Regions from separate parts of the Homo sapiens genome. Here region 1 is linked to region 2. The links are contacts of gene promoters, found by promoter capture Hi-C in human tissues and cell types (Jung and others, 2019). All regions are on one chromosome and are shown on one strand. The core of a region is centred on a gene start or on the middle of the fragment in contact, and the rest is flanking DNA. Distances in the headings are between cores, read along the strand shown.

What was found. Contacts are between HindIII fragments. The study calls those that stand out against the background at their distance.
Region 1: a contact is called between a fragment that was not itself captured here and the fragment with the promoter of NDUFS5 in region 2, in 1 of the 25 tissues and cell types used here (dorsolateral prefrontal cortex).

The regions. Positions count from the first base shown.
Region 1 is chr1:38,021,500-38,025,653 of GRCh38, reverse strand. UTP11 (UTP11 small subunit processome component) reads right to left here. Exons shown (of 8, transcript NM_016037.4): 7 at 2,845-2,955; 8 at 834-2,109. The coding sequence ends at 2,026. Among named protein-coding and RNA genes, the nearest start is that of UTP11, 11 kb to the right of the region's middle. The HindIII fragment of the contact is 9,293 bases long and covers 1-4,154 here.
Region 2 is chr1:39,023,868-39,028,119 of GRCh38, reverse strand. NDUFS5 (NADH:ubiquinone oxidoreductase subunit S5) reads right to left here and starts at 1,770. Exons shown (of 3, transcript NM_004552.3): 1 at 1,718-1,770. RefSeq lists enhancers at 657-1,242, 1,243-1,829, 1,689-1,938. The HindIII fragment of the contact is 8,915 bases long and covers 1-4,252 here.

The DNA of each region.
Region 1 (4,154 bases), core at 1,133-3,632, 1.0 Mb after region 2:
GTTTGACCCCAGGATCAGACTGCTGCTTAGTCTGCTCACTCCCCTGTCTAGTATCACTATGATGAGTCCCTTCCCTGGTTTGATCCTCAAGTCTCTAAAACTTTCAGCATTGACTGAGCTCAGCACCTCCCCAGAAGGGAGTGCATACACACAATGGGAAGCATTTCCTTCCTGAAGGCAAAACCTACTGGTTTCTGTTTCCTGACCCTTCTTGCTGTTTTCCAGGGCCCCTGATTTAAATTCCACTGGGTACACCCTGAGGAAACAGGCTTCTAGTCTAGGCTTGTACAGGAAGCTCACAGTCATGGGCACTTATTAAGCATTAACAATTTTCTTTTAAAGCCTTACAATCCACACATGGCTGTTCTCCCTCCTTGGTGTAAGGGCTACGCAAGCCCCCCAGAACCCCGCTCCCTGTTCTCCCATGTTTGCTCTAAGCATGTTCAGTCCTGTCCTTACTGTCCTTGGCCTATAATCCTGATATGGGCAAACAAAGGAAGGAGAGAACCAGAGAAGAGAAAGAAGCTGGCCAACACACCCAGGGGTCCATATTCCCAGAGTGAAGGTCTGCACCAAGCTATTCTAGCCTTGGAATTGTGAGTTGGCATGGAGTGCAGAGGACAGAGACACAGCCAGGCCTATACTGATTTGAGCTTCATCAATAAGGAAGAGGTGCTCCCGTAGGTTCCTTGTTCCAAGAGTTTCTATCTGCAGCTGTTAAGTAAGAGAAAAAAATTCCTCCTTGGATAATTTATGAAGCCACCTGAATAGCCAATAAAAGAAGAATGAGTGAGGGTAAAATCAGTCTATCCACTAGATAAAACACTATGCAATCATTAAAAATAATATTTATTTTAACGTTTACTCTAGCATATATTACTGTAAAAAACTTTTGTGATGTAACAAACTGGGAAAGAGCTAATGATTTAATTAAAAAGTAGGACATCGGCCGGGCGCGGTGGCTCACGCCTGTAATCCCAGCACTTTGGGAGGCCGAGGCGGGTGGATCATGAGGTCAGGAGATCGAGACCATCCTGGCTAACAAGGTGAAACCCCGTCTCTACTAAAAAAATACAAAAAAAAATTAGCCAGGCGCGGTGGCGGGCGCCTGTAGTCCCAGCTACTCGGGAGGCTGAGGCAGGAGAATGGCGTGAACCCGGGAAGCGGAGCTTGCAGTGAGCCGAGATTGCGCCACTGCAGTCCGCAGTCCGGCCTGGGCGACAGAGCGAGACTCCGTCTCAAAAAAAAAAAAAAAAAAAGTAGGACATCAAATTGTTTACTGTAACTATAAAACACAAAAACATGGACAAAAAGTGATGCCTCGTTTTACAAAATGGAGGAAATCAACTAGACTACTCACAGTAATTGTCCACCTCCACAGCTCTAGCTCCTAGCACAGTTAAGCATGCAATAAATATTTGTTATTATTGAATAAGCACTGGGATTAGGAATGAATTAATCTACTTTCCAAATCTGCTGTAATGAGATCCTATGTTTCATAACAAAAAAAATTATGGGCTGGGCATAGTGGCTCATCCCTGTAATCCCAGCCCTTTGGGAGGCCAAGGTGGGAGGATCGCTTGAGGCCACGAGTTCAAAACCAGCCTGGCCAACATGGCAAAACCTGGTCTCTACAGAAAATTTAAACATTACTCAGACATGGTGGCACATGTCTGTGGTCCCAGCTACTCAAGAGGCTGATGCAGGAAGATCACTTGAGCCCAGGAGTTCAAAGTTGCAGTGAGCCATAATCACACACTGCACTTCCAGCCTGGCAACAAAGACCCTATCTCAAAGAAAAAAAAAATTAAGTATATAAAAATAAGACTAATTTCACAATCCAAAAACAATTACAGAAGGGAGGGAGATTTAATGTTGTCCATAGAAAGACATTAAATGTCAGACTGACAATTTAGTTATGGTTACAAACCGGAAAACCATGCCATTTGGAGTAATGGAATTTGAAGTTACTAGAAAACGACAACAGATTTTTGATACAGAATGACAAGGCTTATCTATAACACGTCAACGTTTTCGACGACTCTGAAATTTATAAATAGCTGGGGAGTTCACCGTTTCTTTCTTCACCTTCACTTTCTGAGTTTTATCCTACAAAAGAGTAAAAAGGTGATCAGTAAAGAGAAGGAAATGGTTTTGTAAAATCGAAAGGTTAATAAACTACCTATTAGCACCTGCTTCAGCCCTTCTCAAAGTTGAGAACGGACACAGCCCTACTGCCCAAGGCATCCACTGTAGGCAATGAATTAACTTCTCCCCTAGGCATCTAGAAAGTACTAGCTGTGTACAGTCCTAGGAAAACTGAGAAGAAAGGTGTTCAAGTAGTTGTTTCATTTAAAATTATAATTTTAATTCTCTCACGGAACCCCAGTTGAGAAAGGCTGACCTAAATGATCTACAAAGCTAAAGAATTTGACATTTAGAGGAATGATAAGAATATGAAAGAGGCATCTTATATTCCTCAGCTCTGCTATTTAACTACACAATGTTGTCTATTTTTAAACACCAATGAGTGACATGCACTGTTTTGTTAACCTGTTTAAATGTTACGGGAGCTGCTCATAAGCTATAAAGTTCATATGCTACCCGATCCTACCCTTTGCTGTTCCAAAGCACTGACTAATAACCCCCTTATTACCTCCTTAATCAAGGCGCATTTCAACACTGTCAGAGTAACAGACACTGGCTCAAACCACTGCCCCTGAGGAGCAGACATTTTCACTGGGGTTGATTTACACACAGCTGAAATCTAGTCTGAGTTAAGACCTTTACAAGAAAGAAAAGGGGGAAAAAAAAAAAAAGAGGCCTAAGGCTCTCTCTCCTCACCATAAGATCTTTGCGTGTTTGAATTTTCTGAGCAATAACGAACAATTTCTTCTCTCGTTCAATCCGCTGTGTCAGGCAGTTATACTGCTTTTGCCTTTCTTTAGCTATTCGCTGGAGAAGAAACACACACATTCTCAGTGAACAATGAACAGGACAAAAATGAGTAAGAAACTGTTTCTTAATCCATTTAAGCCAACTGCATAGTTTCATCAACTCCCTTCTTTCACCAGAATCAACATAACGTGGTAACAATAACGTTGCCCATTTTAGGAACATCACATTCTGGAGCTGAAAGGAACCCTGGGCCAGACGCAGTGGCTCACGCCAGTAATCCCAGCACTTTGGGAGGCTGAGGAGGGAGGGTCACTTGAGCCCAGGAGTTCCAGACCAACGTAGGCAACATAATGAGACTCTGTCTCAAAAAAAAAAAATTAAAAATTAAAAAAGGAACCCTGTAGACTATCTTATCGAAACCCGTCATTTACAAACGCAGAAAAATGAGGCCCAGAGAAGAAGTGGTCCAAGGACACACAGCTCACCTGGAGCAGAGTCAGGACCGTCCCCCTCTCACAAATCCCAGGAATCTTTCCACTACTACACTAAGCTGCTTCAACCTTTGTGTGAGTGCCACAGTCACCTGAGATGATGGCAGGAATGAATCAGTGTTGGAAACCCTATACAAAGTGAATGGAGAGCAACAGAAGAGTCGGCAACAGAAGGGTCCCCAGGCAGTGTGCTGGTGCCTGAAAATCTTACCACTCAGAAAGCAGAAGAATTTTTTCAGCAGAAGCTCACCTGAGAATTCTCACTGCTAATGACTCCTCAAAGATCAGTGGGGTCCTTACATTTTGGGGAATCATCAACCTCAGAGAAACTGATGAAAGCTTTGGGATCTTTCTTCTTTTTTTTTTTTTTCTGAGGCGGAGTCTTGCTCTGTCGCCCAGGCTGGAGTGCAGTGGCACTATCTCGGCTCGCTACAACCTCCGCCTCCTGGGTTCAAGCAATTCTGCTGCCTCAGCCTCCCTAGTAGCTGGGATTACAGGTGCCCGCCACCACGCCTGGCTAATTTTTGTATTTTTAGTAGAGACAGGGTTTCACTACATTGGCCAGGCTAGTCTCGAACTCCTGACCTCAAGTGATCCACCTGCCTTGGCCTCCCAAATTGCTGGGACTACAGGCATGAGCCACCACGCCCAGCATGGGATGTTTCTTGAGATAAATGTACATACACATTTGTAAAAGGTTGTGCAAGCACATATACCTATCTGCACAAAATACCAGTGAGAAAGGGGGGTTTTCTCAGACCTCCT
Region 2 (4,252 bases), core at 521-3,020:
GGCCAGGCGCGGTGGCTCATGCCTGTAATCCCAGAACTTTGGGAGGCCAAGGCGGGTGGATTACCTGAGGTCAGGAGTTCAAGACCAGCCTGGCCAATATGGTGAAATCCCGTCTCTACTAAAAATACAAAAAAATTAGCTGGGCGTGTTGGCACATGCCTGTAATCCCAACTATTCGGGAGGCTGAGACAGGAGAACTGCTTGAACTGGGGAGACAGAGGTTGCAATAAGCCAAGATCCGCCATTGTACTCCAGCCTGGGCGACAGAGCGAGACTCTGTCTCAAAAAAAAAAAAAAAAAAAAAAGAAGAAGAAGAAAAAAAGAATTTGGATCCTTTGGTCAGGTTCTCTGTCTCAAAAAAAAAAAAAAAAAAAAAAAAAGGCACTTGTGGTGGTATGTGCGCCTGTAGTCCCAGCTACTCCTAAGGCTGAGGCAGGAGACTGAGGCCAGGAGTTCAAGGCTTCAGTGAGCTATGACCTGGCCACTGCACTCCATCCTGGGCAACAAAGCGAGATCCTGTCTCAAAAAAAAAAAAAAACCAGAGCGAAAGAAATGGGTTAAGACTTACTTTGTAGACTATTACAGACAGTAGGGAAAAAAATTTACATGCAAATACATAATAATGTTAAATGTAAAAACACACACACAAAAACAAACCCTGACTGCCTAAAATGACTGAAAGGAAGCGCGCGCACACCCACAAATATCAATATAAATGTGTACTCATGGTAGATTTAAAGGTGAATTTAGTTGGGCGCAGTGGCTCACGCCTGTAATTCCAGCACCTTGGGAGGCCGAGGCGGGCGGATCACCTGAGGCCGCGAGTTCAAGACCAGCCTGACCAACATGGCGAAACCCTCTCTCTACTAAAAAAATACAAAATTAGCCGGGCGTGGGGGCGCATGCCTGTAATCCCAGCTACTCGGGAGTCTCAGGGAGGAGAATCGCTTGAATCCGGGAGGCAGAGGCTGCAGTGAGCCGAGATCGCGCCACTCTGCACTCCAGCCTGGGCAACAAGAGCGAAACTCCATCTCAACAAAAAGGTGAATTTAACTTCTTAAGTTCCTTCCCATCCCTCAGTCATCATTTACTGAGTAGTTACGTTCCAGGCACTCAGATGCGGGGGAAAGCAGCTCCAACGTAAGCACCAGAGACACACACTCGGAATTGCGAATACACTGCAAGGAACACGAGTGGGTAAGAGCTCGAAGGAGGAAGCACGAACTCTGCCCGGAGACTTGAAAATGCCTTTAACATGGCTTGCGAGTTCGCCAAGTGAAGATCAGTGGGCAGAGTGTTCCAGTTGGGCAACAGCCCGGAGTTACAGCCGGAAGTGCTGGCTATGTTTGGGGGACAATGGAGCGCAGCGTGCATGACGGTGAAAAGAATGAAATGAGCTCAGGAGGCCGGCGGGGCCGAAATCACGCAGAGCCTGGAAAGCTGGGATAAGGATCGTAGACTTTAGGTTAAGAAACAGAAAGCCAAAACATTAGTCCGGCAAAAACCTAAACAAATGTGGAAAGTGGAGAGAGCGGCAATCTCCAGGCTTCGGTGCCATTAGCTGTGGAGGTGAAGCGGCCTGGGAGGGCAGGGAACACGCCCTGAGTTCAGGTCTGGGAGAAGGGGACACACAGCAAGCCAAGAGGAAATCTGTTAAAGAGACCTCGGAAGGAAGGTCCTTAAGCTAAGCTGCCGCGCGGACATAAGCAGCCCCTACCTACCCGATGCTCGTGCCCTTGACTCTTCTCTGGCCGCCGCTTCAGAACGACTAGCTAGCGACGCGGACGCCTGCCGTAAAGGATGACCTCAGCGAGACGTTTGCAGCGCGACGCCGGAAGCCGACCTTCCCTCAGCCGTCTCCCCACAAAACCATAGAAACCGAGCCCGTTGGCCTGGTACGGTGGCTGACGTCTGCAATCCCAGCACCTTGGAAGGCTGAGGGAGGAAGATCACTTCAGCCCAGGAGTTCGAAAACAGCCTGGGCAACATGGCGAAACTCCCCTCTCTACAAAAAATAAAAAATTAGCCGGGCGAGGTGGTGCATGCCTGTGGTTCCAGCTACTCAGGAGGTTGAGGTGGGAGGATCCCTTGAGCCCAGGAGATTGAGGCTGTAGTGAGCCATGATCACACCATTCCATTGCATTCCAGCCCTGGCAACAGAGCAAGACCTTATCTCAGGGGGAGAGTGAGAGAGAGAGGATGAAGAAGAGAGAGAGGAGGTAGAGAGAGAGAAAGGAAAAAAAACCCAAACCCATCAATTACAGAGACACAGGGAAGGCCTAGCCATTAGTGAGTTCTTGCTCCTTTCTTGCACTCTGCCTAGCATGCTCACGACAACACTGAGTGGTGAGAGACTTCACCAAAGTCACAGGAGAGAAAGAACACTGGCTCCCTGCCTACCCACTAGTGGTTAAGCACATGGACTATGAGCCCAAACCACCACGTGGGGTCAAATGTAGGCCCCCAGCCGGGCGCAGTGGCTCAGGCCTGTAATCCCAGCACTATGGGAGGCCGAGGTGGGCGGATCACAAGCTCAGGAGATCGAGACCATCCTGGCCAATATGGTGAAACCCTGTCTCTACTAAAAATACAAAAATTAGCTGGGTGTGGCAGCGAGTGCCTGTAATCCCAGCTAGTGGGGGGAGGCCGAGGCAGGAGAATCGCTTGAATCCGGGAGGCGGAGGTTGCAGTGAGGTGAGATCGCGCCACTGGACTCCAGCCTGGCGACAGAGCTAGATTCAGTCTCAAAAAAAAAAAAAAAAAAAAAAAAAAAAAAAAAAAAAAGTAGGCCCCCACCAATTTCGTGTGACTCTAGGAAAGTTTCTTAACTTCATTGTGCCTCAGTCTCCTCGTCTGTTAAGATAATTATGGTATTCACAATGGAGGCTTGCTATAGGGATTAACTGATTTATGTATAAAGCACTGAGGCGGTGGCTAGCACATGGGAAACATTCCAAGGCAGTCGCAGTTCTTTGATGTCTCAGCTTTCAGTTTGTGAATCAACTGCTACCATGCCTGTCATCTGTTCCAGAACCTCCAATGACTCCCTTTGACTACATCAGAGACTCTAAAGTGTTGTGTGTATGTCTTTGGGGGGTGGACCACAGGGTGCATGAGATATTATACATTGGAGGTATGGGAGGAAAATACTAGAACATATATATATATATATATATATATATATATATATATATATATATAAATATATATATATATAATTATTACTTTTGAGACAGATTCTCACTCCCATTGCCCCGCTGGAGTGCAGTGGTGCAATCACAGTTCACTGCAGCCTCAACCTCCCTGGGCTCTGGTGATCCTCCCACCTCAGCCTCCCAAATAGCTGGGACCACATGTGCATGCCACCATGTGCCTGGCAGTCTTTATTATAATTATTATTTTATTTGAGATAGGGTCTCACTCCATCACCCAGGCTGGAGTGCAGTAGTGCTATCATAGATCACTGCAGCCTCAAACTCCAGGGCTCAAGCAATCCTCCTGCTTAGCCTCCCAAGTAGCTGGGACTACAGACATGCCACTGTGCCCAGCTAATTCTTTTTTTTTTTTTTTTTTTGAGACAGAGCTTCACTCTGTCACCAGGCTGAAATGCAGTGGTGCAATCTTGGCTCACTGCAACCTCCACCTCCCAGGTTCAAGCGATTCTCCTGCCTCAGCCTCCTGAATAGCTGGGACTACAGGTGTGCGCCACCACTCCCAGCTGATTTTTGTATTTTTTTTTAGTAGAGACGAGGTTTCACCATATTGGCTAGGATGGTCTAGATCTGTTGACTTCGTGATCTGCCCGCCTCAGCCTCCCAAAGTGCTGGGATTACAGGCGTGAACCACTGCGCCCGGCCAAGCTAATTCTTTAAAAAAATTTTTTGTGGAGATCAGTATCTCTTTATGTTTCCCAGGCTGGTCTCCAGCTCCTGGGCTCAAGTGATCCTCCTGCCTGGGCCTCCCAATGTGCTGAGATTACAGGCATGAGCCACCATGCCTGGCCCTTTTATACATTTTTTTTTAACACTCTGAGAGAGAGTTGAGGGCAGGCTGCTTGTAAGGATAAGGCAGCCTCTTTTATACATTATTAACCTAAGAAAAAATGGGGTGCCCTTGAAAGAGTTTTTTAAGATTAGAAAACAAGGGCCAGGTGCAGTGGCTAATGCCTGTAATCCCAGCATTTTGGGAGGCTGAGGCAGGCAGATCACCTGAGTTCAGGAGTTCAAGACCAGCCTGACCAACATGGTGATAC